5 separate regions of the Homo sapiens genome follow, and regions 2, 3, 4 and 5 are each linked to region 1. Evidence: promoter capture Hi-C in human tissues and cell types (Jung and others, 2019). All regions are on one chromosome and are shown on one strand. The core of a region is centred on a gene start or on the middle of the fragment in contact, and the rest is flanking DNA. Distances in the headings are between cores, read along the strand shown. Region 1 holds the start of DNPH1 (2'-deoxynucleoside 5'-phosphate N-hydrolase 1). Region 2 holds the start of PPP2R5D (protein phosphatase 2 regulatory subunit B'delta). Region 3 overlaps LOC105375065 (a long non-coding RNA gene). Region 4 overlaps RRP36 (ribosomal RNA processing 36). Region 5 holds the start of PTK7 (protein tyrosine kinase 7 (inactive)).

Region 1 (5,944 bases), core at 1,946-4,445:
TCCAGAGGAGTTAGGTGCTGGAAGGAGGGAGCGCCACTCACCGTCCGCCTGCTGCAGCCACTCCAGGTCCTGCTCATGGATGAGCCTGTCACCCCCAGCAGCCTCTTCCCCTGTGTTGAGGGAAAGCTGGTCAAGGACATGCCTCATGCTGGCTCCCAGTAACTCCTATGCCCTTGTATGTCCATACCCACCCTGCTCAGGGAGGGTGGGAGCCTTGTGCCAGATGACCTGACCAAACATGACAATCTCATCAAAGCAGCGAGGAAATGGAATAGCCACAAAAAGAAAAATTCAACCCTATGCAAGGTGGGACATGTGATTAGGGCCGAATGAGGAACATCAGCAGCACTAACTGTGGATGACATTGATTAGGGAAAGGTGCATGGGCACTTAGCCAAAAGTAGGAGAGGCATCCTAGGCCCAGAAGGTAGGGATCTCGGGTCTTAGCTTGATTAAATGTTATCTTCCAGGACAGTGAGGCTCAGCCCACCGCATCAGGGTAGGACCACTGGGGAGCTTGTTAGAAGTACAGATTCCAGGGCCAGGCGCGGTGGCTCATGCCTGTAATCCCAGCACTTTGGGAGGCTGGGGCGGGTGGATCACTTGAGGTCAGGAGTTCAAAACCAGCCTGGCCAACATGGTGAAACCCCATCTTTACTAAAAATACAAAAATTAGCTGGGTGTGGTGGTGCACACCTGTAATCCCAGCAACTTGGGAGGCTGAAGCAGGAGAATCACTTGAACCCAGGAGGCGGAAGTTGCAGTGAGCTGAGATCGCACCACTGCACTCCAGCCTGGGCAACAGAGCAAAACTCCATCTTAAAAAAAACAAGAAAAAGTACAGATTCGGGCCAGGCGCGGTGGCTCACGCCTGTAATCCCAGCACTTTGGGAGGCCAAGGCGGTAGGATCACGAGGTCAGGAGTTTGAGACCAGTCTGGCCAACATGGTGGAACCCCATCTCCACTAAAAATTAAAAAATTAGCCAGGCGTGGTAGCAGGCGCCTGTAATCCCAGCTACTCGGGAGGCTGAGGCAGGAAAATTGCTTGAACCTGGGAGGAGGAGGTTGCAATGAGCGGAGATCACTCCACTGCACTCCACCCTGGGCGACAGAGCAAGACTCTGTCTTGGGGGAAAAAAAAAAGTACATATTCGAAGGCTTTATCCCAGATGATCAGAACCTGCATTTTTAACAGGCTCCCTCAGATGACACTAAAGACCTGGAGAGCCACCAGGCAGTCTGGATATACCATGAACTAATGAGCTGTAAGCTTCAGGGTCCTCCACTTGCACAGGCCCTTTCCAAACCATCAGCAACTTTGTATTGTGATTTTTGTCTTTTTAAAGAGGTCTCCCAGAATTGCATGAGGTCCCACAAATTGTGGGTCTGCTCTTGGGTAGGATAAGTGGAAACCACTTAAGGTTTTCTGAGCAGAAGCACAAGCATTCAAGATACAATTTTCAAACTGGAAGGATCTGCAAGATTCCAGACCAGCACATCAAATATGCTTTAGAGAAATCCAGCCAGACTCAGCGGCTCATGTCTGTAATCCCAACACTTTGGGAGGCTGAGGCAGGCAGATCACTTGGGCTCAGGAGTTCAAGACCAGCCTGGCCAACATGGCAAAATCCCGTCCCTATAAAAAATACAAAACTTAACCAGGTATGGCGGCACACACCTGTAGTCCCAGCTACTTGGGAGGCTGAGGTGGGAGGATTGCTCAAGCCCGGGAGGCAGAGGTTAGCAGTGAGCTGAGATTTTGCCACTGCACTCCAGCATGGGTAATAGAACAAGACTGTTTCCAAATAAATAACTAAATAAATAGAAAGAGAAAGAAAAACCCAGCAGCCAGGAGCAGAACACAATAATGGCCTGAAAGAGAATATGAGGCCAGCATGGGGGCTCACATCTATAGTCCCAGCACTTCGGGAGGCCTGAGGCGGGAGGATCACTTGAGGCTAGGAGGTCGGGACCAGACTGGGCAACATAGTGAGACTCCCAATCTCTACAGAAAAATTTTGAGCCAGGCATGGTGTCGTGCCCCTGCAGTCCTTGCTAATAGGAGGCTGAGGCTGGAGGATCATGAGTTTAGGAAGCCGAGGCTGCAGTGAGCTATGATCGCACCACTGCACTCCAGCCTGGGCGACAGAGAGGCCCTTGTATCAACAAAACAAAAATGTGAGAGAGGGTAATAGTGAGAACTGGGGTCAGCCAGGTCTAAAAGAGTGCTGATGTCTTCACAGAAAAAGGGGAGGCAGGCCCTGGGCGGTGGCTCCTGTCTGTAATCCCAGCACTTTGGGAGGCCGAGGCGGGCAGATCACCTGAGGTCAGGAGTTCGAAACCAGCCTGACCAATATGGTGAAACACCGTCTCTACTAAAAATACAAAAAGTAGCCGGGTGTGGTGACGCGTGCCTGTAGTCCCAGCTACTCGGGAGGCTGAGGCAAGAGAATCACTTGAACCCGGGAGGTCGAGGTTGCAGTGAGCCGAGATCACGCAACTGCACTCCAGCCTGGGCGACAGAGTGAGATTCCGTTTCAAAAACAAAACAAAACAAAACAAAAAAAGTTGGTGGGGAGGCAGGAGGATACCTTTCGTGTTGGGTGGTGGAAAAGATTCCAGCGGGTGAGGTGGGAACTGAGCCCAAGCAAAGCAGCCCAATCTACCTTCTTTCTGTTGCACCCTACAAACGCTCTGAAAGCAGCTGAAGACAGAGTTCTCCAAGAAGGAACCAAAGGTCAAGATAATGCTGAGTCTGCCTTACACCCGCAGGCTTGCTGGGACCCACGCAGCCCGAGCCCCGGCCCGTTTCCTTCTCGGGCTGGGGCGCTGGATGGAGCACCGGGGTAGGAGGGCGGGCTCCGGGCGCCGGGAGCGCAGCTGCCGGGGGTCGGGGGGGCGGACAGGCCGGGTCCCTGCCACCCCAGCCAGGTCCGCGCCCGCGTCCCCGCGTCCCGCGGCCCCAGGGCCTCACCGCGCGCGCCCAGCTCGGCGGCCGCCACGTGCTCGGTGAGCACTGTCCCGAATCGCCGCAGCCGAGACACGATCCGCTCGTACAGCGTCCTGTCCTCGCGTCCGCCGCGAATGCTCCCGCAGAAGTACAGGGCCGGGCGGCCAGGCTCCCCGCGCTCCCAGCTCTCGCTGCGCCCCGGCACCATGGCAGCAGCCATTCCCCAGCCGCCCGCGCTCTCCGGCGCCAGGGGGCGCCAGCCCGCGGCCACGTGACCCCGCCCGGCCCAGCGCAGAGCCCGGCTGCTGAGTCCACACCTGTGGAATGGGGACGACGAACTGGGAGGATCCAGCCGGGACCCTTTCGGGAACACACCCTTCCTGGACTTGACGTTCGGATGCCTAACACGCACCTTAACTTGACCTTGTCCAGGCAGAACTCGAGGGCTTCCCCACCTCACCCGCTTCTGCTCCCCTCCTCCCCGCCGTCTTCCCCAGCTGCATCCTCCCAGCTGCTCAGGCCCAAGACCCTCGGAGTCATCTGGATCGTTCCCTTTCTCTCAAACTCTGCGTCCCATCCATTGACAACTCGTGTGGATTCGTCCTTCCAAATCTGAAATCTCACGACCGCCTACAGGGCCACCACCCTGGTCTAAGCCTCCTCTGGGCTCTCCACAGCCTCCTAACAGGTGTCCACATGTCGTGAGCTGCTCAAGGTCAGACAGAACCAGGTCCACCCACCTTTGTGTCTGTCCACAAGATCAGGTTTTTACTGATGCTATTTCAATCACAAAAGCTAGGCGTCACACGGAGTTCCCAAGAAGTCAGTTCTCCTTAGGACCACCTGTTCACTCGGTAGTCAGAGCCGCGGGCATGCAAGCTGGAGCCACTCCACAAGTCAGACTGTATTGCAAACCATCCATAGTATTATATGTAAGGATATAAATGTTACAGGTTAAAATTTCACATCAAACACAAGAACATTTAACATCAAGAGAAAAGGGGTTAACGAACCAGTCCAAGGAGAGTGCTGTGGACAGAGTCCCGGCCTGATGGGGATAGTCATCAAGAGCTTGCAAGGAAGAGTCCTTGATTTGGGCAGAGCCTTCAGAGGCAGACACCAGGTGCTGGGCACGAGTGATAGCAAGACTCGGTCTGTTAAGGTGGCCGTGTCTAGCTGCTGAAGTCCTGATCATTTTATGGTCCTTGAGTCCTCTGATGAGGACTTATAGTAAAGGGTGATGCCCTTATCTGGTTGGGTGTTGTCTCCATTGGTTAGGCGAACATCTGGACCCTGTTGGCTTGATGCCTTTTGAAATGTAAGATGAAGTTTTTTAAAACTTTATTTATTTATTTATTTATTATTTTTGGTGACAAGGTCCCTGTCGCCCACACTGGAGTGCAGAGGCACGATCATTGCTCACTGCAGCCTCAAACTCGTGCCTCAAGTTTGAGGGTTCAAGGAATCCTCCCACCTCAGCTTCCTGAGTAGCTAGGACTACAGGCACGTGCCACCATGCTGAGCTAATAAAAAAAAAATTGGCTGGGCTCGGTGGCTCATGTCTGTAATCCCAGCACTTTGGGAGGCCGAGGTGGGCAGATCACGAGGTCAGGAGATCGAGACCATCCTGGCTAACGCGGTGAAACCCCGTCTCTACTAAAAATACAAAAAGTTAGCCAGGCGTGGTGGCACACTCCTGTAGTCCCAGCTACTCCAGAGGCTGAGGCTGGAGAATCGCTTGAACCCGGGAGGCAGAGGTTGCAGTGAGCCAAGATCACGCCACTGCACTCCAGCCTAGGCAACAGAGTGAAACTCCATCTCAAAAAAAAAAAAATTGTAGAGACGAGGTCTCACTATGTTTCCACGGCTGGTCTCAAAACTCCTAGACCCAAGCAATCCCCCTACCTCAGCCTCCCAAAGCGCTGGGATTACAGGCATAAGCGAATGTGCCCAGTGATGGAGTCTTTCTAAGATGGAATTACTTATGTCAAGGGTTCTCTATACACCTCCCCTGGCCCTTCCCTGCTACAGTTTGCTCTCCACTCAGCAGCTTGAGTGATCTAGGTCATGACCCTCCTCTGCTCAAAACCCTCCAGTGGTTCCCATCTCACTTGGGGTAAAAACTGAAAACCTCACAGTAGCTCACAAGGCTCCAGATGATCCTGTCACCCTCTTACTTCCCTAACTCCAGCTTCTATTACTTTCATTCACTTCTCTGCCACCTCACTGGCTTCCTGGCTGTTCCTTAAGCATGTCAGCCATGCCCTTGCCTCAGAGTCTTTGCATTTGCTGTTCCCTCTGCCCGGAACACTGTTCTCCCAGGTAGCTTCCTGGCTCACTCCTCATTTCCTTCAAGTCTTTGTTCACACTTCACCTTCCCTGATCACCCTATTCAATATGGCAGCCCTCCATCCCCCAGTACTCTCTATCACCCTTCCCTACCTTGCCTTTTCTCCTTCTCATACACCATATAACTTATTAATTTTGTTGCATGTTTTTCTATACCTAGTAGAAGGTCGTTCACTGCTGTATTCCTGCTTTCTTTCTTTTCTTTCTTTCCTTCTTTCTCTTTCTTTCTTCTTTCTTTCTTTTTCTTTCTTTCCTTCCTTCCTCCCTCCCGTCCTTCCTTTCCTTCCTTCCTTCCTCCTTCTTTCTTCTTTCTTTCTTTCTTTTTCTTTCTTTCTCCTTCTTTCTTCCTTCTTTCCCCTTCCTTCCTTCCTCTCTCTCTCTTCTTTCTTTCCCTTCCTCCCTCCCTTCCTTCCTCCCTTTCTTTCTTTCTCTTTTTTTCTCTTTCTTTCTTTTCTTTCTTAAGAGATGGTGTCTTGCTCTGTCACCCAGGCTGGAGTGCAGTGTCATGGTCACAGCTCACTGCAGCCTCAAACTCTTAGGATCAAGCAATCCTCCCTCATCATCCTCCTGAATAGCTGGGACTACAGGCGAGTGCCACCATGCCTGGCTAATTTTTTATAGAAATGGGGTCTCACTATGTTGCC
Region 2 (5,944 bases), core at 1,000-3,499, 240 kb before region 1:
ACAGGCACCCACCGTCATGCCTGGCTAATTTTTGTATTTTTGTAGAGACGGGGTTTTGCCATGTTGGCCAGGCTGGTCCTGAACTCCTGACCTCAGGTGATCCGCCCTCCTCAGTCTCCCAAAGTGCTGGGATTACAGGCGTGAGCCACTGCGCCTGACCTTTTTTTTTTTTAAGACTAAATATTTTATTTTATATAGAATTTTAAAAATTTATTTTTTGTACATGAATAAGTTCTTTAGTGGTGATTTATGAGATTTTGATGCAGCCATCACCCAAGCAGTGTATACTGTACCCAATGTGTAGTATTTTTTTTTTTTTTTGAGACGGAGTCTTGCTCTGTCGCCCAGGCTGGAGTGCAGTGGCATGATCTAGGCTCACTGCAACCTCTGCCTCCCGGGTTCACGCCATTCTCCTGCCTCAGCCTCCCGGGTAGCTGGGACTACAGGCGCCTGCCACCACGCCCGGCTATTTTTTTGTATTATTTTAGTAGAGACGGGGTTTCATCGTGTTATCCAGGATGGTCTCGATCTCCTGACCTCGTGATCCGCCCGCCTCGGCCTCCTAAAGTGCTGGGATTACGGGCGTGAGCCACCGCGCCCGGCCTCCATTGTATCATTCTCATGCCTTTGCATCACAGGTTTCTTCTTTTTTTTTTGTAGACGGAGTCTTGCTCTGTCGCCCAGGCTGGAGCGCAGTGGCATGATCTCGGCTCACTGCAACCTCCACCTACCGGGGTCAAGTAATTCTCCTGCCTCAGCCTCCTACCGGGTTCAAGTGATTCTCCTGCTTCAGTCTCCCGAGTAGCTGGGACTACAGGCGCGCGCCACCACGCCCCGCTAATTTTTGTATTTTTCATAGAGGCATGGTTTCACCATGTTGGCCGGGATGGCCTCGATCTCTTGACTCGTGATCCGCCCACCTCGGCCTCCCAAAGTGCTGGGATTACAGGCGTGAGCCACCGCACCCTGTCTAATTTTTGTATTTTTAGTAGAAATGGGGTTTCACCACTATGGTCAGGCTGGTCTCAAACTCCTGACCTCGTGATCTGCCCACTTTGGTCTCCCAAAGTGTTGGGACTACAGGCGTGAGCCACCGAGCCTGGCCACAGGTTTATTCTTTTTGTCGTCATTGTTGCTGTTTTGAGACAGAGTCTTGCTCTGTCGCCCAGGCTGGAGTGCAGTGGTGTGATCTCGGCTCACTGCAACCTCCGTCTCCCGGGTTCAAGTGATTCTCCTGCCTCAGCCTCCCGAGTAGCTGGGATTACAGGCGTGCACCACCACACCCAGCTAATTTTTGTATTTTTAATAGAGACGGGGTTTCGCCATGTTGGCCAGGCTGGTCTCGAACCTCTGACCTCAGGTGATCCTCCTGCCTCAGCCTCCCAAAGTGTTGGGATTACAGGCGTGAGACACCGTGCCTGCCTGGTTTACATTCTCTCTTAATCCTTTGTTTATACACATCTGTGATTCACCAGACTGCGAACTCTTTGTGGGCATAAACTGAGTCTTACCCATTAGAACACGGACTTGAGCAGGGTGGCAAGTAAGGGATGGATTTCCTGAGACAGTCAACAATGAAGTTGCTTTTCCACTGCGTTCCCAACTGCTCAAATCTAGCTGGTTCCCCAATCCCAGTACACTTGCAGTAGCAACGGGGACCCTCTTCCTAAAGTTGCACCAAGCCAGGGATTCTCCACTCATTTCGCCCAGGTCCTAGCCCTGCCAGGCTTCCCCTTTGCTCCTCTGCAACCCCTGTCTAGGGAGGCGGGTGTCTTGGAAGGTCCTTGGGAGCTCCCTCCATCAATTTTGCATCTGCAATTAGGGCTACTTTACCCCAGTGAAGAAAGGTGCCCTCCGTATTAGGGCTTCCTTCCTCCAATTCCGACTGGACAGGGTAGCAGAGCGGGCAAAGTGTGAGAGCCTTTAGAAGGAAAGAGCAGGGCTCCAAGCGCCGCGAAGAATGGCCGAGGCCGACGCACAGCAGACGCTGGAGTGCAGCCCTCCTAGCCAAGCTTGGGTTTCCCCTTATCCCCGCCTCCTTCTCTAAGCTCGACCCACTTTAGGGCGGGACCACCCACTTCAGCCAATTCTGGAAGCCGAACCCTGGCGGTTTGTACTATTTCTTTCCAATAAGAAAAAAAGGAAGCAGCTTGGCTCCAATGACCAATCCGAGGAGGCGGCGCCTGGTTGTCAGGCAGTTTTGTAGGAGTTCGGGCCAATTGGAGGCGCAGGCACCGCTCGACCCGGGCGCAGCGCGCAGGCGGTGGCGAAGAGACGCCGAGCGGGCCGAGTGCGGCCGAGCAAAGCCGGAGCCGGAGCGGGGCCGCAGGAGACGGGCCGGGTCCGGACGGGCCGAGATGCCCTATAAACTGAAAAAGGAGAAGGTGAGCGTGGCCCTTTTTCCCCCACCGCCGCCTTGGAGCCTGCGCGGAGCTCTGGGAGGGGCCGGAGCCAGGCCCGGGACAGCCCCAGACTGACCCTCCCGTCCAGCCCCCGCAGGACTCCTGGGGCCAGCCCTCCGCCCCCGCGGCTGGCAGCACCCCCAGCTTGTGCCGCAGCTAGGACAGCTCCCCCACCTTGCCCCGGAGAGACTCCCCCCACATACACCTCCCTCCCTTCTTCCCTTCTCTTACCCCCGGCCCAGGGTAACCTCCTTCTTCCAGATCTGCCCCATTCCCAGGTCACTGTCCTGCTTTTTCTGTCCCCCCCATCACCCCTGGCCCCGATCCCCCTTCGGTTTGGGCAGCCCCTCATCTGAAACTGCACCTTCCTCCAGAATTGCCCCCTCGCCCCGCCCTGAGCAGCCCCTTGTCTCCTCTTCCTACCCGCCTGGGACAGCCGCCCCGCAGTCCCCTACGGCCCCTTCTCTTTCCATGCCAAGCCCCTGACCTAGAACAGCGCTGCTTTCTCTCTCCTCCACCCAAATCTGGCCTAGGCCCCTCCCTCTAGTTCTTCCTTCACACACAAACTTGTAAGCAGGACTGAGCCCTTCTGTTGATGGAACCTCACAACGTTGGTGCTGGAAGGGACCTCTGAGCGCATGCAGTGCAATCCCTAATGGTACAGATGAGGAGACTGAGGCCCCGACAGGGCAAGGGACTTGTCCAAGGTCACACAGCCTGCTGGAGGCCCAGCTGCAATATCAGGTCTCCTGACTTAAAGGCCTCTTTTGTATCAAAGCCCTCCTAACTGTCACCCAAGTGCATCCTAGACCAGTCACCTTTCCTAATCTGAGTAGGCTCCTCACCCTTATTCTTAATCCTAGGATAACCTTTGCATTTTTCCTTTTTTTTTTTCTTTTCGCACCAGTGCTGGATTTCTGCCTTTCCTAAGCTACACCATCTTCAAATTGGGAATTTGTCCTCACTGTCAGATTATTGTTCCTTCTTAGCCTGCAGGCCAGCCACCCCTGAACACCCATGTCTTTATCATGATGTCCTGACACAGGCCATTTCTTTTTTTTTTTTTTTTTTTGAGATGGAATTTTGCTCTTGTTGCCCAGGCTGGAGTGCAATGGCGCGATCTCGGCTCACCACAACCTCTGCCTTCTAGCTTCAAGCGATTCTCCTGCCTCAGCCTCCCAAGTAGCTGGAATTACAGGCATGCGCCACCACATCCGGCTAATTTTGTATTTTTAGTAGAGACGGGGTTTCTCCATGTTGATCAGGCTGGTCTTGAACTCCTGACCTCAGGTGATCTGACCCCCTCGGCCTCCCAAAGTGCTGGGATTACAGGTGTGAGCCACCGTGCCTGGCCCACAGGCCAGTTCTTAATGTTGCCTTCTTTCACCTTCCTCATCTACCTCGGTGCTGCCTTCCCCTGCTCCTCATCCGTGCCTTTTTCTACCCTCTGTTTCCTGCTGTTGCTGAGGTCTGACTCAGAGGTGTGGTTCCTTTGAGGTACAGACTCACACATAGGATGCTAGGATACCAGTTCCAGCCTCCCCCAGCTTCTCCTCTCCTGGGGCTGGCCCTTTTTGGTGGGGGTTGGCTCTGGCCTGGTGTTCTGGCCACCTGCTCGATGACCCCAGAGGTATATTGCTTTCATTTGCCCTCTGATTGGCTGGGTTACTGGGCTGCCATCTCTGACCTTTTCAATCAAACTTTTTCTCCTGGGGCTGTTCTGTATTTGCCAGGCAGCTCTGATTCTGAGTTGTCCCCTTAACCTTTCAGGGCCTGAGGTTCTAAGTACAGGGTTGGTGATGGTGTACTAGATAGTGAGCCTCCTGGGAGTAGTGAGCTGGACAGGGTTTTGTGCCCCACCCAGGCCCTGTCCTTGGGGAGTGGGCATGCGGAGGTGGTTTGGGTAGCTCAGTCGTAGACAATGCACACAGAAATCAGCCACAACAGGGGCTAAGGGAAATGGAATTCGGGGAAAGCTGGTGAGGTCCCCACCCATTTGTAATTTTTAGTCTGTTGGACTAGATACTGTCCCATCCACAGAAAGCAATAGCCTACTAGATTGTGAAGAAGACAAATTGCCAGTGAGATTTGCTAGGACCATGGGTGTAAACGTTTGGTTGGGAAAGGGTGTTGGAAGTAACGGGGTGCATGGAGCCAGGCATAACTCTCACCTCCCTATAAGGTTTTTCTGCTCTTGATTTTCAGTTGCATTTGGCCTTCTTCAATGGTTGGCAGGCTCTAAGGGGCAGGGGGGTTGCCAGTGTGACTGAGGTTTGTCTGGATGGCTGTGGGTGGAGGATCTTTATTGCTCATCTATGACCTGTCCCCTCTCTCCTGGCCATCTTTCACAGCTTCCTCTCTAAAGCCTTTCTGAGCCCTCAGTCAGGAGTGAACTCTCCTTTCTTTTCTGGATTTGCAGAACACTTAGTAGGCCACTTATGGTCCTTTTGTGTTTGGCCTTGGATGGGAATTAATTGTGGACAAGACTTTTCTTCCCCTTTGAGATAATAACTAAGTTTCATTTTGGTTTGACAACTCCTTTTCACACGGTAAGTACGTGCTTAGTGGATAGGTGCTAAGATAATCTCTTGGAGGGATTCGCATCTCTCCTCTTCCTTCATGTTCTCCTCTGGGACTTACCTCTTTTATTTTCCTGAGTAGGGTGCCCCTGCCCCCTCCGATTTTTTTCTTGTTCATAATAATAGTAATAACATTGACCAGCACTACGGTTTTCATGTGCCTTAACACTGTGCTGAGGGAAGAGGGTATTATGATTGTCATCATCTAATAGATGAGGAAACTGAGGCTCAGAGAGGCTAGTTAACTTGCCTGTGATTACACAGCCAGTAAGAGTTGGGCCCAAAACACAGGGCTGAGTCCAAACATGTTCTTTTAACCTCTGTGCTACACAGCATTTGACTACTGAGCTGGGCTGAAATGTGTGTGCTTCACCTGTTCTGCAGGAGCCAGGGAGCAAGGGTGGTAGGCCTGGTTCCTCCATGCCCACTCACACCCACACACTAAGGCAGCTGGATCTCTCTTAGGCTCATTCTTTGAAAGATACGTCTGAGGCATCATGCTGAGTGCTGTAGGGTGGGTGGAGGGGTACAAAAAAGAATAAGCAGCTTATGGTCTAATAGATTGGAGATGTATGAAGATGGGTCAGCTTTGTTCAAGGGGTTCATGTCTGGGGTGTGTGCAGACACCTCAATGTTGTGTCCTGCCTGCACCCTGCCCCCGGCCTATTTCTCTCCACCCCATGCTCTCAGCCACTGATAAGGGTCAGTGTGGCCAGCTGGGTTAGTATACAGCAGGAGCGTGCTCAGGCCAAAGAAGGAACTCCTTCCCCCTACTGCATGGAGCTGCTCTACACCACACCTTTCTTCCTCCCCACCTCCAAGAAGCCTTCCCCCTACTCCAGCCCACACAGAGCTCTCTTCTCCCTGAAATCCTTTTGCCCCCATAGTCACAATAACTCGATTTAACACTTCTCACTGAAGGGGCTTGGCTGCTATTGAATTGCACAATCTCAGAGCTGGAAG
Region 3 (5,944 bases), core at 1,484-3,983, 190 kb after region 1:
ATTCCAGCCTTGATGCATAGAGAAAGACCCTGTCTCAAACCAAAACCAAAACCAAACCAAACAACAACAACAACAACAACAAAAACCCACACATACACTTTAGGGCAGACCTCTGTAGTAGGATGATGTATTTGTGTACAGTAGCTAAAACTTGCAAGTAGCTGCTTACCCAGTCAGCCAGGCGGCCATGGGTTTTGTTTGTTTTTGTTTTTGTTTGTTGTTGTTGTTGTTGTTGAGACGGAGTTTTGCTCTTGTTGCCCAGGCTGGAGTGCAATGGCGCCATCTCAGCTCACCAAAACCTCCAACTCCTGGGTTCAAGCCATTCTTCTGCCTCAGCCTCCCGAGTAGCTGGGATTACAGGCATGCGCAACCATGCCCAGCTAATTTTGTATTTTTAGTAGACGCGGGTTTCTCTATGTTGGTCAGACTGGTCTTGAACTCCTGACCTCAGGTGATCCACCCACCTTGGCCTCCCAAAGTTCTGGGAATACAGGTGTGAGGCACTGTGCCCAGCCATAGCCATGGTTTTTAATGACTAAGAAGAGAAAGGGAGGCTGAGGAGGGTGGATCACCTGAGGTCAGGAGTTCGAGACCAGCCTGGCCAACATGATGAAACTCCGTCTCTACCAAAAACACAAAAATTAGCCAGGTGTGGTGGCGTGTGCCTATAATCCCAGCTACTCGGGAGGCTGAGGCAGGAGAATCACTTGAACCCAGGAGGCGGAGGTTGCGGTGAGTTGAGATTGTGCCATTGTACTCCAGCCTGGGCAACAGAGTGAGACTCCGTCTCAAAAAAGAAAAAAAAAGTTTATTTTTTCTAACTTTCTTATTTTCTTGGGTTAAACTAGAGCTCTTAAATTAACCTGCCTGCCCATCAGCTTTCCAGACTAGGAGTGATTATATAACTTACAATTCTTACTGGGGACCTGAAAGCCCCAACATGCTCTGAAGCCTGGAAAATTAGGTGGAAGAAGGAAAAGATAGAACCTTGGCACAGAGAGAAAAAAAAAGTGGTTAGCATCTGTGCTGGACTAAAAAATATATAAGTATGAATGTTAGATTTTGTGAGTTACATCAGGGACACATGTGCATATCTGCATTTGATGTGTGTGCAATTCTGTGGTCAAGAGGGTGTCTGTGAGTGAGAAGACACATCCAAAGATTTAATGAGAAGAATAATGATTTTGGATCCATCTGCCTTGCTCTCAGTGCCAAGAGGAATGGTAGGCACAGGATTCACTGCAGGGGTAGATGGTGAAAGCAGTCAGAAAGTGATGGGTTGTTAGGGGTACCCCTGAATAATGTCTCCCCACCTAGTTAGCTCTTGCTTGAAATTTAGCAGTTAGCTAACTGTGTCTCTAAGGATTTTAAATTTTTCTTCATACTTTTCTTCATTTCTACATTTTCAAGACATACCCACGACTGGGTAATTTATAAAGGAAAAGAGGTTTAATGGACTCACAATTCCACATAGCTGGGGAGGCCTCACAATCATGGTGGAAGGTGAAGGAGGAGCAAAGGCACATCTTACAAGGCGATAGGCAAGGAGTGCTGAGGGTATTGCAATTATAATCAAAAGGTTATTAATGTAAAATAATATATTTTAGTACTTGACAGTAGTTCAAGTAAAAAGTCTTGAGGGAGGTTCCTGATTCAATTTAGACCATGAGGCCTTGTGTTAAGGGTGTGGATTGGGTATTGCGGATCCTGATCTAGAACATGTGCTGTGATGTGTACTAGTTCTATAATCCTCGGCAAGGCTCTTGACATCTGTGGTGCTTAAACCTGAGTGCAAGAATCACCCAACTGCAGATTGTAGGATCCTCTCCTAGAGAGTCTTATTCAGCAGGTCTAGAGTGGACTTTGGAATCTGCATTTTAATAAGCAGCTCAGGTGACTCCAAAGCAAATGCTATATAGACCACTCTTTGAAACACACTATTCCATATTCTGCAAATCTCCATTTTTAAAAACTTTATTGTGAAAAAATTTCAAATATATGCAGGCATAACTCATTCACCTGCATCTCGCTTTATTGCACTTTGCAGATTACATTTTTACAAATAGAAGGTTTGTGGCAACCTGGTGTTGGGCAAGTCTATCAGCATCATTTTTCCAACAGCGTGTGCTCACTTCGTGTTTCTGTATCACATTTTGGTAATTTTCACAGTATTTCAAACTTTTAATTATCACTCTGTCTGTTATAGTGATCTGTGATCACTGTGATCAGTGATCTTTGATGTTACTATTGTAATTGTTTTGGGATGCCACAAATCACACCTATGTAAGACACAGAAGTTAATAAATATGTGTTCTTTGACTGCACCACCTACCAGCCATTCCCCTATCTCCCTCTTTTTGAGCCTCCTTATTCCCTGACACACACAGTATTAAAATTAGGTCCATTACTACCCTAAAATGAGGCCGGGTGGGTGGCTCACACCTGTAATCTCAGCAATTTGGGAGGCCGAGGCAGGTGGATCACTTGAGGCCAGGAGTTCAAGATCAGCCTGGACAAGGTGGTGAGACCCTGTCTCTACTAAAAATACAAAAAATAGCCGAGTGTGGTGGCATGCTCCTGTAGTCCCAGCTCCTTGGAAGGCTGAGGCAGGAGAATCACTTGAACCCAGGAGGCGGAGGTTGCAGTGAGCTGAGATTGTGCCACTGCACTCCAGCCTGGGCGACAGAGCAAGACTCTATCTTGAAAATAAATAAATAAATAAATAAATAAATAAATAAATAACTCTACAATGGCCTCTAAGTTTTCTTTTTTCTTTTTTTTTTTTTTGAGACGGAGTTTCACTCTTGTAGCCCAGGCTGGAGTACAATGGCATGATCTCGGCTCATTGCAACCTCCACCTCCTGGGTTCAAGCGATTCTCCTGCCTCAGCCTCCCGAGTAGCTGGGATTACAGGCTTGCGCCTCCATGCCTGGCTAATTTTTGTATTTTTAGTAGAGACGGGGTTTCACCATGTTGGCCAGGCTAGCCTCGAACTCCTGACCTCAGGCAATCCACCCACCTCAGCCTCCCAAAGTGCTGGGATTACAGGCGTGAGCCATCGCACCAGGCCCAGTGGCCTCTAAGTTTTCAAGTGAAAGAAAGAGTTGCACATTTCTCACTTAAAAAAAAAAAAAAAAAAAAAAAGCTTCTAGGATGGAGAATGTGCGAAAAAAAAAAAAGCTAGAAATGATCAAACTTAGTGAGGAAGGCATGTTGAAAGCCAACATAGGTCAGAAACTAAGCCTCTTGGCCAAACAGCAAGTTGTGAATGCAAAGGAAAATTTATTGAAGGAAATTAGAAGTGCTATTCCACTGAACACACAAATGATAAGAATGCAAAACAGCCTTATTGCTGATATGGAGAACATTTTAGTGTCTGGATAAGGACCCAACCAACTACAACATCCCCTTAAGCCAAAGTCTAATCCAGAGTAATGCCCTAACTCTTCAATTCTATGAAGACTGAGAGAGGTGAGGAAGCCGCATAGGAAAAGTTTGATGCTATCAGAGGTTGATTCATGACGTTTAAGGAAAGAAGCCATCTCTATAATATAAAAGTGCTAGTGAAGCAGCAAGTGCTGAAGCAGAAGCTGTCGCCAGTTAACCAGAAGATCTAGCTAAGATCAATGATGAAGGTGGCTACATGAAACAACAGATTTCTCACTCTGTCGCCAGGCTGGAGTGCAGTGGTGTGATCTTGGATCACTGCAACCTCAGCCTCCCGGGTTCAAGCAATTCTCCTGCCTCAGCCTCCGGAGTAGCTGGGATTACAGACACACACCACCACGCCCAGCTGATTTTTGTATTTTTAGTAGAGACACAGTTTCACAATGTTGGACAGACTGGTCTCGAACTCCTGATCTTGTGATCCACCCTCCTTGACCTCCCAAAGTGCTGGGATTACAGGCGTGAGACACCACACCTGGATGAAACAACAGATTTTGAAAGTAGATGAAACAGCTTTCTATCAGAAGAAGATGCCATCTAAGACTTTCATAGCTAGAGAGGAAAAGTCAATGCCTAGCTTCAAAGCTTCAAAGGACAGGCTGACTCTCTTGTTAGGTGTTAATGCAATTGGTGACTTTAAGTTGAAATTAATGCTCATTTACTATTCTGAAAATCCTAGGGCTCTTAAGAATTATGTTAAAGCTATTTTTTTTTTTTTTGGAGATGGTGTCTTGCTCTGTCACTCAGGCTGCAGTGCAGTAGCATAATCTTGGCTCACTGCAACCTCCACCTCCCGGGTTCAAGCAATTCTCCTGCCTCAGCCTCCCGAGTAGCTGGGATTACAGGCACGCACCACCACACCCAGCTAATTTTTGTATTTTTAGTAGAGACAGGGTTTCGCCATGTTGGCCAGGCTGATCTCAAATTCCTGATCTCAAGTGATCTGCCTGCCTCGGCCTCCCGAAATGGTGGGATTTCAGGCGTGAGCCACCACACACAGCCAAATCTACTTTATCTGTGCCTTATAAATGGAACAACAAAGCCTGGATGACAGCACATCTGTTTATAACATGGTCTATTGAATATTTTAAGCCCACTTTGGAGGACTACTTCTCAGAAAAAAAGATTCCTTTCAAAATGTTACCGTTTATTGACAATGCATCCAGTCATTCAGGAGCTCTGATGGAGATGTATAAGGAGATGACTGTTGTTTTTATGCCTGTTAACACAACATTCAGACTGGGCATGGTGGCTCATGCCTGTAATCCCAGCACTTTGAGAAGCCAAGACGGCAGATCACTTGAGGTCAAGAGTTCTAGACCAGCCTGGCCAAATGGTGAAACCCGTCTCTACTAAAAATACAAAAATTAGCCAGGTGTGGTGGCCCACACCTGTAATCCCAGCTACTTGGGAGGCTGAGGCAGGAGAATCACTTGAACCTGGGAGGCAGAGGTTGCCGTGAGCCAAGATCACGCCACTGCACTCTAGCCAGGGCAGCAGAGTGAGACTCCATCTCAAAAACAAACAAAAAAAGAAACGAAAAAAACTACAACATCCATTCTGCAGTCCACGGATCAAGGAGTAATTTCAACTTTAGAGTATTTTATTATTATTATTATTTATTTATTTTGAGATGGGAGTCTTGCTCTGTCACCCAGGCTGGAGTGCAGTGGCATGGTCTCAGCTCCCTGAAACCTCTGCTTCCCAGGTTCAAGCAATTCTCCTGCCTCAGCCTCCCAAGTAGCTGGGATTAAAGGTACACACCATCATGCCTGGCTAAGTTTTGTAGTTTCAGTAGAGCTGGGTTTTCCCCATATCGGCAAGGCTGGTCTTGAACTCCTGACCTCAGGTGATCTGCCTGCCTTGGCCTCCCAAAGTGCTAGGATTACAGGCGTGAGCCACTGCGCCTGGCCTCAAGTATCATTTTAGAGACAGGGTCTCACTCTGTTGCCCAGGCTAGAGTACAGTGGCCCAATCATAGTTCACTGCAACCTTAAACTCTTGGGCTCAACCCATCCTCCCACCTCAGCCTCCTGAGTAGCAGTGACTACAGGTGGGCACTGCCATGCCCGGCTAATTTTTTATTTTTATTTTTGTAGAGATGAGGTCTTGCTATGTTGCCCAGGCTGGTCTCAAACTTCTGGCCACAAGCAATCCTCTCACCTTGGCCTCCCAAAGTGCTAGCATTAGAAGTGTGAGCCACTGTGCTTGGCCCAAGTATTATTTAGGAAATACATTCCATAAGGCTATAGCTGTCATAGACAGTGATTCCTCTGATGGATCTGGACAAAGTAAATTTAAAACCCTCTGGAAAACATTCACCACACTAGATGCCATTAGGAATATCTGTGAGCCAGGCATGTTGGCTCATGTCTGCAATTCCAGCACTTTGGGAGGCTGAGGCAGGAGGATGGCTTGAGGCCAGGAGTTTGAGACCAGCTTAAGCAACATAGTGAGACCCTGCCTCCATTAAAAAAAAAAGCGCTCTCTCTCCCCC
Region 4 (5,944 bases), core at 2,288-4,787, 200 kb before region 1:
GTTTTATCTCTTGGTCTACACTACACACACACACACACACACACACACACACACACACAAACACAGAGTCAGTTTTATCTCTTGGTCTACACACACACACACACACAATCAGTTTTATCTCTTGGTCTATACTACACACACACACAGAGTTTTATCTCTTGGTCTACACACACACACACACAATCAGTTTTGTTTCTTGGTCTACACTGCACACACACACATGCACACACGCTGGGCCAGGCACATAGGTGTTCATAGTTGGTTGAATTGAGTAGTACTGAGATCATATAAAAAGTCATCAGTTGGGCTGGGCACGGTGGCTCACGCCTATAATCCCAGCACTATGGGAGGCCAGTGTGGGGGGGTCACGAGGTCAGGAGTTCGAGACCAGCCTGGGGGCCAACATGGTGAAACCCTGTCTCTACTAAAGATATAAAAAAATTAGCCGGGCCTGGTGGCGTGCACCTGTAATCCAGCTACTCAGGAGGCTGAGGCAGGAGGATCACTTGAGCCCGGGAGGTGGAGGTTGCAGAAAGCCTAGATTGCACTGTTGTACTCCAGCCTGGGCAACAGCGTGAGACTCCATCTCACAGGAAAAACAAACAAACAAAAAAAAGTCACCAGTTGGGCCGGGCGCAGTGCCTCACACCTGTAATCCCAGCACTTTGGGAGGCCAAGGAGGGCAGATCACGAGGTCAGGAGTTCAAGACCAGCCTGGCAAACATGGTGAAACCCCGTCTCTACTAAAAATACAAAAATTAGCTGGGTGTGGTGCTGTGCATCTGTAATCCCAGCTACTCAGAAGGCTGAGGCAGGAGAATCGCTTGAATCTGGGAGGCGGAGGTTGCAGTGAGCTGAAATCGTGCCACAGCACTTCAGCCTGGGTGACAGAGTGAGACTCCATCTCAAAAAAAAAAAGTCACCCGTTGGCCAGGCGCAGTGGCTCACGCCTGTAATCCCAGCACTTTGGGAGGCTGAGGAGAGCGGATCACCTGAGGTCAGGAGTTCGAGACCAGCCTGGCCAACATGGCGTAACCCTGTTTCTACTAAAAATACAAAAAAATTAGCCATATGTGGTGGTGCGCGCCTGTAATCCCAGCTACTCCGGAGGCTGAGGCAGGAGAATCACTTGAATCTAGAAGACGGAGGTTGCAGTGAGCCGAGATCGCGTCACTGCACTCCAGCCTGGGTAACAGAGCAGGACTCCGTCTCAGAAAAAAGATAGAGGGGCACCAGTGAGCTTTAAAGAACTCATGTATCCAGCATAATGGCTTGGAGTTACTGACCTGGTTTGGGAAAGAATAGGGGCTTCCTTCTTTGTTCACCAACTTTCATTCTCCCTGTCATTTAGCTGAGCAGCGCCAGTTGGCACTAGCTGAGAAGTTCAAGGAGCTGAAACGCAGCAAGAAATTGGAGAACTTCTTGAGTCGAAAGAGGCGACGAAATGCAGGCAAGGACAGGAGACATCTCCCTTTGAGCAAAGAGTAATAAGGAACTATCCTCTGCTCTGCCACTGCCCCAGGGAGACATGGATCTGTGAGGACAGATTTGGCCACGGCTGGTTTCCGTTCAAGGGCAAGGATCACAGCTGCCCTTGAATCTCATTGCCTCAGAGAAGACTAGAGGGCTCTTGGACTATCCCTAGGGCTACACAAGAATAGTTCAGCCTTCTGCCATGCCACACAGCCTCAGCTTGAATCTGGTTCATTGCGTCCTCGTGTTCTTCTCTCATCCTTGCCTTAAACCAGGGATTCTGATACCGAAGAAGAGGGGCCAATGAAAACCATGGAGTCTGTTCGTGACTCCCAGGGCTGGGACATTATGTAGGAGCCACTTCATAAACATTCTCTTTACTCATCTTTTTATTCTGTTTTTTGTGGCCTTCTTTTTGTGTTTCCCCCCCGAAACAGAGTCTCGCTCTGTCACCCAGGCTAGAGTACAGTGGTGCAATCTCGCCTCACTGCAACCTCCACCTCCCAGGTTCAAGTGATTCTTGTGCCTCAGCCTCCCGAGTAGCTGACATCCGCCACCAAGCCCAGCTAATTTCTTTCGTATTTTTAGTAGAGATAGAGTTTTGCCATGTTGGCTAGTTTGATCTTAAACTCTTGGCCTCAAGTGATCTGCCTGCCTCAGACTCCCAAAGTGCTGGGATTACAGGCGTTGAGCCACCGTTCCGGCCTTAAGGCCTCTGCTTTTATGTGGGATTTGTGGGTAGCCTAGAACTACTTTTTAGTGGGCCACATATTGGGATAGGCAATAAAGCCTAAGGCATCTACAACTGGGAAGTCAGATCAGAAACCCCTCCCACTTAAATCTGGGCCCCTCAAGGATGACAAGATCATTTAGTGGGTGAACCAATCCCACAACTCCCCTACTTGGCTTTGGTTTTGGATGCAAGGGATGTTAAGAGGTAGGGATATAAAGCTTCCATGGTAATATACAAGCACAGCTGGCCTTCAGTACTGTTTGGGACAAGAGTTTATAACCCATGTGGTCTGGAAAATCCTCAGGCTGATAACTTAGTTTAAAATAGTCTCAAGTAGGCTGGGCGTGGTGGCTCACACCTGTAATCCCACCACTTTGGGAGGCCGAGGCAGGCGGATCACCTGAGGTCAGGAGTTCAAGACCAGCCTGGCCAACATGGTGAAACCCCATCTCTACTAAAAATACAAAATTAGCTGGGTGTGGTGGTGGGTGCCTGTAATCCCAGCTACTCAGGAGGCTGAGGTAGGATAATCACTTGAGCCTGGGAGGTAGAGGTTGCAGTGAGCCAAGATCGCACCACTGCACTCCAGCCTGGGCAAAAAGAGTGAAATCACCACCGCGCCCCCCCCCCCAAAAAAAAATGGCCAGGCATGGTGGCTCACACCTGTAATCCCAGCACTTTGGGAGGCAGAGGCAGGTGGATCACGAGGTCAGGGGTTCGAGACCAGCCTGACCAACATGGTGAAACCCTGTCTCTACTAAAAATACAAAAATTAGCCGGGTGTGGTGGTGGGCGCCTGTAATCCCAGCTACTCAGGAGGCTGAAGCAGGAGAATTGCTTGAACGCGGGAGGCGGAGGTTGCAGTGAACCAAGATCGCGCCACTGCACTCCAGCCTGGGCGACAGAGCGAGACTCCGTCTCAAAAAAAAAAAAAGTCTCAAGTAGATAGTGTCTCCAGGGTCCTGGCAGAAGCAAATGTAATCCTTTCTTGAGGATTGTTTTTTTTTTGTTTGTTTTTTGTTTTTGAGATGGAGTCTCACTCTGTCGTCCAGACTGGCAAAAATTAAAATGTGAGAAGTATAAAATAAAAAATACAAAATGTCTTATGTTTAAAGAAAAAGTGTGACAAATGAATATCAAAAGGTACTAAACTGGTGTGATTAAAAAGTAAAACTTAAGGCCGGTCACGGTGGCTCACGCCTGTGTTCCCAGCACTTTGGGAGGCCAAAGCGGGTGGATCACGAGGTCAGGAGATGGAGACCATCCTGGCTAGTACAGTGAAACCCTATCTCTACTAAAAATACAAAAAATTAGCCAGGCGTGGTGGCGGGTGCCTGTAGTCCCAGCTACTCTGGAGGCTGAGGCAGGAGGATGGCATGAACCTGGGAGGCAGAGCTTGCAGTGAGCCGAGATCGTGCCACTGCACTCCAGCCTGGGGAACAGAGCGAGACTCCATCTCAAAAAAAAAAAAAAAAAAAGTAAAACTTAAAAAGAAAACCTTTTAAAAATGAAAAGTAGGGCCAGGCATGGTGGCTCGTGCCTGTAATCCCAGCACTTTGGGAGGCTGAGGTGGGTGGATCGCCTGAGGTTGGGAGTTCGAGACTAGCCTGGCCAACATGGTGAAACCCCGTCTCTACTAAAAATACAAAAAATTAGCCGGGCGTGGTGGCGCATGCCTGTAATCCTAGCTACTTGGGAGGCTGAGGCAGGAGAATTGCTTGAACCTAGGAGGCGGAGGTTGCGGTGAGCCAAGATTGCGCCACTGCACTCCAGCCTGGGCAACAAGAGTGATACTCCACCTCAGAAAAAAAAAAGTACACTACGAGAAGTTAGAAACTTTATGGTTAAGCAGCAGATTAGACTTCTCCCTAAAGGGAGAATGAACTGGAAATAGATCTGAAGTTACACAGAGAGAGCACTGACATACAGAGAAGTGGAAACTAAGGAAAAGAGGTTAAAAAACATGGAAGAGGCTGGGTGTAGTTGCTGACACCTGTAATCCCAACTTTTTGGGAGGCATAGAGAGGACTGCTTGAGGTCCTCAGTTGGGGACCAGCCTGGGCAACATAAGGAGACCTTGTCTCTAAAAAAAAATTAAAAAATCAGACATGTGGCACATGCCTATAGTCCCAGCTTCTCTGGAGGCTCAGGCTGGAGGATTGCTTGACCCCAGGAACTTGAGGTTGCAGTGAGCTATGATGGCATCACTGCACTCCAGCCTGGGTGACAGAGCAAGATCCTGTCTATAAAACAACAAAATGAAGATAAATGTGAGACTTGACAATCAAAATTTCAGGAAAGAATATTTCAAAGAGGCTGGGCATTTTCTAGAATTTTTTTTGAGATGGGGTCTCCCTCTGTCGCCCAAGCTGGAGTGCAGTGGCACGATCTTGGCTCACTGTAACCTCTTCCTCCCAGGTTAAAGCTATTCTTCTGCCTCAGCTCCCTGAGCAGCTGGTATTTCAGGTGTATGCCACCACACCTGGCTAATTTTTTTTTTTGTAGGGATGGGGTTTCACCGTGTTGGCCAGCTGGTCTCAAACTCCTGACCTCAAGTAATCCACCCACCTAGGCCTCCCAAAGTGATAGGTTTACAGGTGTGAGCCACCGCACCTGGCCTAGTTTTTTTTTTGTTTTTTTTGTTTTTTTTTTAAGGCTAGATAAATCATAAGCCAGGAACATTTGAAAGTCTATCCAGCCTGGGCAACATGGTGAAACTGCATCTCTACAAAGAATACTCAGGCGGCTGAGGCAGGAGGATCACTTGAGCCTGGGAGGTCGAGGCAGTGAGCCGTGATTGTGCCACCCGTACTCCAACCTGGGTGACAGAGCAAGACCCTTTCTTAAAGAAAGAATGCCTACCTTAAAAGCAGCTCTATGCCCCCAGTTAGGAGACTGAGGTGGGACAATCACTTGAGACTAGGAGTTCAAAGCTGTAGTATGCAGTGATTGCGCTTGTGAACAGCCACTGCACTGCCGCCTAGGTAACACAGTGAGATCCTGTATCTAAAAAAAGGCAGCTCTTGGGCCGGGCACGGTGGCTCACACCTGTAATCCCAGCACTTTGGGAGGCCGAGGAGGGCGGATCATGAGGTCAGGAGATCAAGACCATCCTGGCTAACACGGTGAAACCCCATCTCTACTAAAAATACAAAAAATTAGCCGGACATGGTGGCACGTGCCTGTAGTCCCAGCTACTCAGGAGGCTGAGGCAGGAGAATCACTTGAACCTGGGAGGCGGAGGTTGCAGTGAGCTGAGATTGCGCCACTGCACTCCAGCCTGGGCAACATAGTGAGACTCCATCTCAAAAAAAAAAAAAAAAGAAAAAGGTAGCTCTAATGAAAAGGAAGAGAAGTAGAATCAGAAGTTAGGACATCTATTGCTTGATGCTTCTGGGATGGGTAAGACGTAGTTCTGGTGATAGAAGTTGAAGCTGCAGCATAATGAGAGATGAAAGAGAAACTGCTCTTCTGGTGATTTTAACCCTAGGGATGTAGCTACTGGGACAGGAGGAAGTGAGGGACCCAGTGCTGCAGGGTCCCTGTTGTCACATATGTCAATCCTACTTTAAAGTCAAATAATGGATTCTGGCTGATAAAGCCTATCAGAATTATGGTGTTGATACGAAAGTGTCACATAGCCACCAAAATGTGTTCTCTACTTTCTTGCTTTGCTCTGATTAGCTAAGTCTTGGTCACATGGCTTTATAGCACTGGGAAAACCAGGATCTGGTCTTT
Region 5 (5,944 bases), core at 2,323-4,822, 150 kb before region 1:
GGCTGATGGTGAAAAAAATTTGAAAGCCCCATCCTGAGGAGTTAAGGAGTAGGAAGTCCCAGGTCCTTCCTTTTCCTTCCAGGGCACTGACCCTATCAGCCAGACGAAGGTGGCAGAGCTGCTTGGGGAGAGTGATGGTAGAAGGACCTCCCAGGAGGGCCCTGGAGACAGTGTGAAATTCGAGGGAGGTGAAGATGCTTCTGTGGCTGTGGAGTGGTCCGGGGTAAGTCTGATCATTGCCTTTTCATCTCTCCTGCCCACTCCTGCTGGTGGTGGTGAGAGGCTCTTGGCCATGCTGTCCCAGTCTAGGTAGTGTATTCCTTCAGGGGTATCTCTGGGAGCCAGTTTTTGACAGGACTTTTATTTCCAGTCACTGGGCCTTGGGGGTGGGGGATGTGTGCAGAATAAATGCTAGGAGTAGACTCAGAAACCCATCTGTGTGGGATCCTTGTAGCTTTCATTGCTCACTCCTTTCTGCCAGGATGGCAGTGGGACCCTGCAGAGGAGTGGCTCTCTTGGCAAGATCCGGGATGTGCTCCGCAGAAGCAGTGAACTCTTGGTGAGGAAGCTCCAGGGGACTGAGCCTCGGCCCTCCAGGTATACATGGAAGTCAAGATACAGTAAAGTGGCCGGGTGCAGTGGCTCACGCCTGTAATCCCAGCACTTTGGGAGGCCGAGGCGGGTGGATCACCTGAGGTCAGGAGTTTGAGACCAGCCTGGCCAACAAGGTGAAACTCTCTCCTAAAAATACAAAAATTAGTCGGGTGTGGTGGCAGGTGCCTGTAATCTCAGCTACTTGGGAGGCTGAGGCAGGAGAATTGCTGGAACCCAGGAGGCAGAGGTTGCAGGGAGCCAAGATCATGCCATTGCACTCCAGCCCAGGCGACAACAGCGAGACTCCGTCTCAAAAAAAAAAAGAAAAAAAAAAAAGATATGGTAAAGCAGGCAAGTAAAGTAAGCCCTTGCCTCCAACTCCTCTTGGCTCCTGATCTCTGGAGAAGTATCTCGGAGAGAAACAGGGAGGAAGTCAACGGGCCAGCCATGGAGAGAGAGTTTGGGTAGAATGGGTGCCCCAGTGTGGCAGTGCTCAAGAGGCCCACAGCCTTAAGGCCACTCAGGAGGAAGAGAGGAGGCCTCAATTCTTCCGTTTTCCATTGTAGCAGCAACATGAAGCGAGCAGCCTCCTTGAACTATCTGAACCAACCTAGTGCAGCACCCCTCCAGGTGAGAGCAGTGCTTGTGAGCATATTGGTGGGTGAGGAAAAAAGGACAGCCAGTGAGCAAGCCCAGTGGAGTAAGGGAAGAGGGAAGGGAGAGGAGTCATCTGGGATGAAGATGAGCCAGGGGATTGCAGTCATTAAGGAATCAGGCAGATAGCTTGTGGTGAGTGCTGACCACCAAGGGACAGTTTCAGGCCAGACATAGTAGCAAATAAGTTAATAAGGAGGGAAATAGGAATATTCTGTAAACTGGTACTTTGGAATTATGAATAATTTAAGAATTATTTGGAGATACGAATTATTTTTTCATCCTGCAGCCGCCTTAGTAGTAGATGAGAATGGAAAAAGAAAAGTATTAAATAATCCCCATCTGAGAAAACACTAGTGATATTTTAATGGCAAATGACTTCTTGTATCAACACACAAGTATATGCCAGTATTCATGTGGTTCTTCCAGGTAGCTTCTCCACCAGATTGTGGCCTTCTGGAAAACCCTAGCAGAGGCTAAACAAAGTCCCAGGTCCAGAGATAGACTGGTCCAGAGACAGATGTGATCCTAGGTCCAGAGATACACTGTGACCATGGGATGGATGGACTCTAGGAGCCAGTCTTTGGGAGGCCGAGGTCCCTGAGCTGATGGGGTAGTGTTGTCTGTTTCAGGTCTCCCGGGGCCTCAGTGCCAGCACCATGGACCTCTCTTCAAGCAGCTGACATTCAACCCGGCCCCCAGGTCTGCTGGGTCCCCCCACCCCCACAGCCCTCACAGCATTCCCCATTGCTCCTGGCTCTTCCCCACCCCTAGGTGGGACAGTGAAGGGGAGCAGTTTAACCAGAAGATTGCTGCTGCCCTTAGGGTCTCAGCTCCCTCCTCAGGAATCCCTCTTAGGAAGGACCCTCAGGACACCCTCTCTGCACCCTGTGGTCCTCTAGAGTAGCTAGCTCTGAGGCCCCAAGGTGGGTACAAAGCAGGTATGGCCCTCAGAGATGCAGCCTGCTGCTGGCTTTTCAGTCAGAGGGTTGGGGGCTGGCCAGCCAAGCTGCCTTGCCCTGGCCGCTCTTACTCCCTCCCTCTGCTGTCTCACTTCAGGTCCATGTATTTCACTTTTCTTAAATAAAAGAATCAGGTAACCTTTCTGTGACTTGAGTCCTGATTGAAGAGGGTATGAAGCAGGGCTTGTGTTGGGGCCCTTCACAGAAGGTGAGGGGCAGTGATGGATGGAGCAGCAGGAGGAGTGTTGATTCTTGGATCTCTCCTCTCTTCCTCCCGTTGTTTGTATCATCTCCAGCAGGGCCTGTAGGAAGGCATCTGGGGGATGGGGAAGAAGGAGGCTCACAACCCAAGGAGAAGGTGCTGTGGACTGGGTTGTCAGGGACATGTGGTGGCCATGTGGCAGGACCCTGGAGTCCTGGCGCCACTTCTCCTGGCTGTGAGGCCCTCTGTGGCTGCCATTCCTCCTCCCAGCTGCTTGGGGGAAGGGAGGTCTAAACAGGCCTGGGGGGCCCTCCGGAACCAGAGGGGAGACAAGGCACTATCCATCCCCTCTCAGCATATCTTGGAGGCCTGAGCAGCAGCTGGGGCCCATCTTCTAAAGCTTGACTCCTCCTGACCCGCCTCCTACACCCCTTGCTGCTTTCACAACAAAGAAAGAATGTGGGGGTGGTGGCGCTGGGGGTGGGGGTGCCTGGAACAAGGGTTGTGCTGGGCCTCCCCACAGCTGGAGACTTGGCCATACCCTGACACAGCCCAGACTGCCTGGAGATGGACTTGGGATGAATTTGTCAGTTAGCAGACTTCAGCCTGGCTTTCAGAGCCCAGCGTGTTTCTACCTTTGGGTTCAGATTGGTCTACAGCCAAACCAGACCCCAGTCATGCACACTTCAGCCCCTCTCCGGGCTACACAGCATCTTCAGGTTACTTGGGGACATTAAGGACACCCTGCTGTTCTGGGTCTGCCGTTAAGATTTTGGGTTGCTGAAGAGTTGGCGGGGCCCGCCTCTTCCCCTGCCCCCACCTGGAGAATTCTGGGGGAACTGTTGGCCAGAGCCTCCAGGTATGCCCAGAATGGACCATTCTCCCCAGGGTCCACGGAATCGCACAAGTCACTTAGGTTCTCCCGGATCCCTGCAGAGTCGGTGGTGGGTACAGCAAATACTCAGGTCCCCTGCACTTCCCTGAGCCTTGCTCTCTCTATTCTCCATCCCTCTCCAGACCCCTCCCCCTACTGAGCTCCTCCCCGCCTCGGCGAGGAGGGGGCGTCGAGGGGGCGGGGCGCCGTGCGGGGGCCGGAGGGGAGGGGGCGTCGTGGGGCGGGGCTTGGCGGCGGCGGCGGCGGCGCGCGGGGACTCGGAGGTACTGGGCGCGCGCGGCTCCGGCTCGGGACGCCTCGGGACGCCTCGGGGTCGGGCTCCGGCTGCGGCTGCTGCTGCGGCGCCCGCGCTCCGGTGCGCTCCGCCTCCTGTGCCCGCCGCGGAGCGCAGTCTGCGCGCCCGCCGTGCGCCCTCAGCTCCTTTTCCTGAGCCCGCCGCGATGGGAGCTGCGCGGGGATCCCCGGCCAGACCCCGCCGGTTGCCTCTGCTCAGCGTCCTGCTGCTGCCGCTGCTGGGCGGTGAGTACCCGAGAGTTGGGGGCACAGAGCTTGGGAAGCGCGGGAGTCCCGTGGGCAAAAGGCTGCGCCCGGGGCGGTGGGTTTGGGCGGCTGGAACGGCCCTGGAGTAGTGGAGAGGCTCGCTGGGGGTGCAGGCTTGCGGCGGAAGGGCGCAAGGAGCCCGGGTGTCGGGAGGCTGGCGAAGCCTCCAGGGACGCGGTCAGGGTACCCCTCCCACTCGCGCCGCGGGGACGCATTTCCAGCCTCCCTGAGTTTTTCTGGTCTGAGCCGAGAGTTTGCTCGAGAACTGCCGAGAGTTGCTGGCTCTCGGGCCCAGATGGGGAGTTTCTTGTCGGGGGAGAAAAGACCATCCGCACCCACCGTGGGGAGCGCGATGGAGAAAAAGGAATTCCCCACCCCACCCGGCAGGGTCGGCCCAGGTAAGAGTTGCTGGTTTGGGGCCCGATGCCGGACAGACCTGCGGCGCGCAAAGCGCGGAGCTTTGTTACCTACGCCGACCCGACGTTCCCGGCTTCCCTCCTCCGAGTTCCTGGGCAAAGCTGAGACCCCAGATGGCCCTGCGGGTGAGGGCGGAAGAAGGGAAGAGTTAGGGGCCGCCCCCATCCATGGCCTCTAGCTACTGGTCTGGAACCCTGCGCCCACTCCGTGCCAGGGCCGAATCCGGGGATCCGAGGGTCCCAGGCTGTCGCGGTGACTAATGTGTGAAGGCCGCTGCCAAAATCGGGCATGGCCTGGCTGCAAAGGTGCGGACGGGGTTTGTTCTGCTCCTTCCTGGATTTCCATCCTGACTGTCCTCACAGAGGAAAGGAAGTATTTCTAAGGGAAGAAAGGCAAAAAGAGCTCATTCTGGCTTTTCTTGGGGGGGGGCCTTAGCATTTTAACGAGGGTGTGGCCCTCATCACCAGGGCAGACAGCACCGCCCCCCCAACTCCCGCAGCTTTTATTTCCTGGCTTGGTCACACCTAAGAGTCATCACTGAGGTGTTGAAGTGCCTTACAGGAAAGCACCAAGCCACCCGCACATCCCAAATAGCCCGGACTGGAAATAAAGCCCCCGACCCTCCACAACACTCCTTGGTGGTCCTCGAAGCAGCTTTCTCTTGGGGAGCTCTGTCGAGGAGACCTGTCCTAGGTGATCACCTTCCATCTCCTTTGAAGGTGGCAATGGGAAGGGCATGGGTAAGGAATTGCCTTTCTAATATCTTTCTGGCCTGCCAGCTGTGGAGGGGTTTTGGTGCTGGTGGAATCAACATCTCCCCTGCCCCCAGTTGTAAAAGGAGAGGTAAATGTAACCCAGGAAAGAGACCAATCTCCAGGGATTTGGAGGAGGTGTTTCTGGAGTTGCCCCGTTTTTCTTGTGATGTGTGTGGTGGTTATTGCTCGTGGCAGAATCCACATCTGCTCCCAGAGGAAGTATGGAAGTTTTTTTGCACAGCCAGGATGGGGGCCCAGCCATCTGGGCGAGCAGCCCAAGCTCACAGGCCCCCTGGCTGTCCTGGTTGGGTTTTGGTGTGTGGGTCTGCCCAATGAGGCTGCCTTCACTGCTGCTGTTCAGGGTACTAGAGTCAAGGGGAGTTTCTGGTGAAGATGGGGCTCTTGCTCAACAAATGCTGAATTCCTAAATTCCTTCCATGAGAAGATGACTCTGATGTTAATTGACTTAATCTGGTGACTGGTTGGTGTTTAGTGTGTGTGCGCGCGTGTGTGTGGGGGATCCTGTTGGGGGAAGTTAGGGCAGGCTGAGGGCTTAGGACAGGAGGTCTGTAGTCTCCTCAGGGGTGGGGGGATGTCTTGTGCTCAACAAAGGAACATTTTAATGAGAGCCTTAAATCAATTCCACCAAATGTGCCTTGTTGTGGAACCTGTCCATGTGCTGTAAACAATTTCAGTGGAGGCCGAGGCGCCTGCTGTCTTCTAGTGAAATCCTGGGACTCAACCCACCCCCAGACGCATGACTTCAGGGGCAACGGTTTTTTAATAGATCACAGTAGATGTTTGCATCTCATTGTTTAATTGTGTAATTAACTGGAGTTGTAGTGAGATCCCACTGTTAATAAGGCTGGAGTAAGGAACCTAGGCTGGCTAGGTTTGTGGATTAGACCATTTTAAAGTCTGGGTA

The links. The method cuts DNA at HindIII sites, captures the fragments that hold promoters and counts their contacts. A contact is called where the count stands out against the background at its distance.
Region 2: a contact is called between the fragment with the promoter of PPP2R5D here and the fragment with the promoter of DNPH1 in region 1, in 1 of the 25 tissues and cell types used here (stomach).
Region 3: a fragment that was not itself captured here is called in contact with the fragment with the promoter of DNPH1 in region 1 in 4 of the 25 tissues and cell types used here (dorsolateral prefrontal cortex, mesenchymal stem cells, psoas muscle and 1 more).
Region 4: a fragment that was not itself captured here is called in contact with the fragment with the promoter of DNPH1 in region 1 in 2 of the 25 tissues and cell types used here (dorsolateral prefrontal cortex and lymphoblastoid cells).
Region 5: the fragment with the promoter of PTK7 here is called in contact with the fragment with the promoter of DNPH1 in region 1 in 2 of the 25 tissues and cell types used here (adrenal gland and neural progenitor cells).

What each region holds. Positions count from the first base shown.
Region 1 is chr6:43,226,286-43,232,229 of GRCh38, forward strand. DNPH1 (2'-deoxynucleoside 5'-phosphate N-hydrolase 1) reads right to left here and starts at 3,196. Exons shown (of 4, transcript NM_006443.3): 1 at 2,976-3,196; 2 at 42-110. The coding sequence starts at 3,171. RefSeq lists silencers at 2,805-2,994, 3,055-3,494 and an enhancer at 2,978-3,477. The HindIII fragment of the contact is 36,780 bases long and covers 1-5,944 here.
Region 2 is chr6:42,982,321-42,988,264 of GRCh38, forward strand. It overlaps PPP2R5D (protein phosphatase 2 regulatory subunit B'delta), which reads left to right and starts at 2,250. Exons shown (of 16, transcript NM_006245.4): 1 at 2,250-2,384. The coding sequence starts at 2,358. LOC124900215 (a long non-coding RNA gene) reads right to left here and starts at 1,994. Exons shown (of 2, transcript XR_007059580.1): 1 at 1,512-1,994. RefSeq lists an enhancer at 2,029-2,148 and silencers at 2,299-2,368, 2,459-2,608. The HindIII fragment of the contact is 19,136 bases long and covers 692-5,944 here.
Region 3 is chr6:43,418,673-43,424,616 of GRCh38, forward strand. The region is part of intron 5 of LOC105375065 (a long non-coding RNA gene); the gene reads left to right. Among named protein-coding and RNA genes, the nearest start is that of ABCC10, 5.9 kb to the right of the region's middle. The HindIII fragment of the contact is 7,247 bases long and covers 1-5,944 here.
Region 4 is chr6:43,027,741-43,033,684 of GRCh38, forward strand. RRP36 (ribosomal RNA processing 36) reads left to right here. Exons shown (of 7, transcript NM_033112.4): 7 at 1,352-1,859. The coding sequence ends at 1,488. Among named protein-coding and RNA genes, the nearest start is that of RRP36, 9.1 kb to the left of the region's middle. The HindIII fragment of the contact is 7,304 bases long and covers 1-5,944 here.
Region 5 is chr6:43,072,742-43,078,685 of GRCh38, forward strand. PTK7 (protein tyrosine kinase 7 (inactive)) reads left to right here and starts at 3,573. Exons shown (of 20, transcript NM_002821.5): 1 at 3,573-3,826. The coding sequence starts at 3,748. It overlaps KLC4 (kinesin light chain 4), which reads left to right. Exons shown (of 16, transcript NM_201521.3): 13 at 83-223; 14 at 482-597; 15 at 1,161-1,224; 16 at 1,881-2,352. The coding sequence ends at 1,931. It overlaps KLC4-AS1 (KLC4 antisense RNA 1), which reads right to left and starts at 3,489. Exons shown (of 2, transcript XR_002956347.1): 1 at 2,954-3,489; 2 at 1,592-2,526. RefSeq lists an enhancer at 2,708-3,231 and a silencer at 3,561-3,660. The HindIII fragment of the contact is 20,814 bases long and covers 1-5,944 here.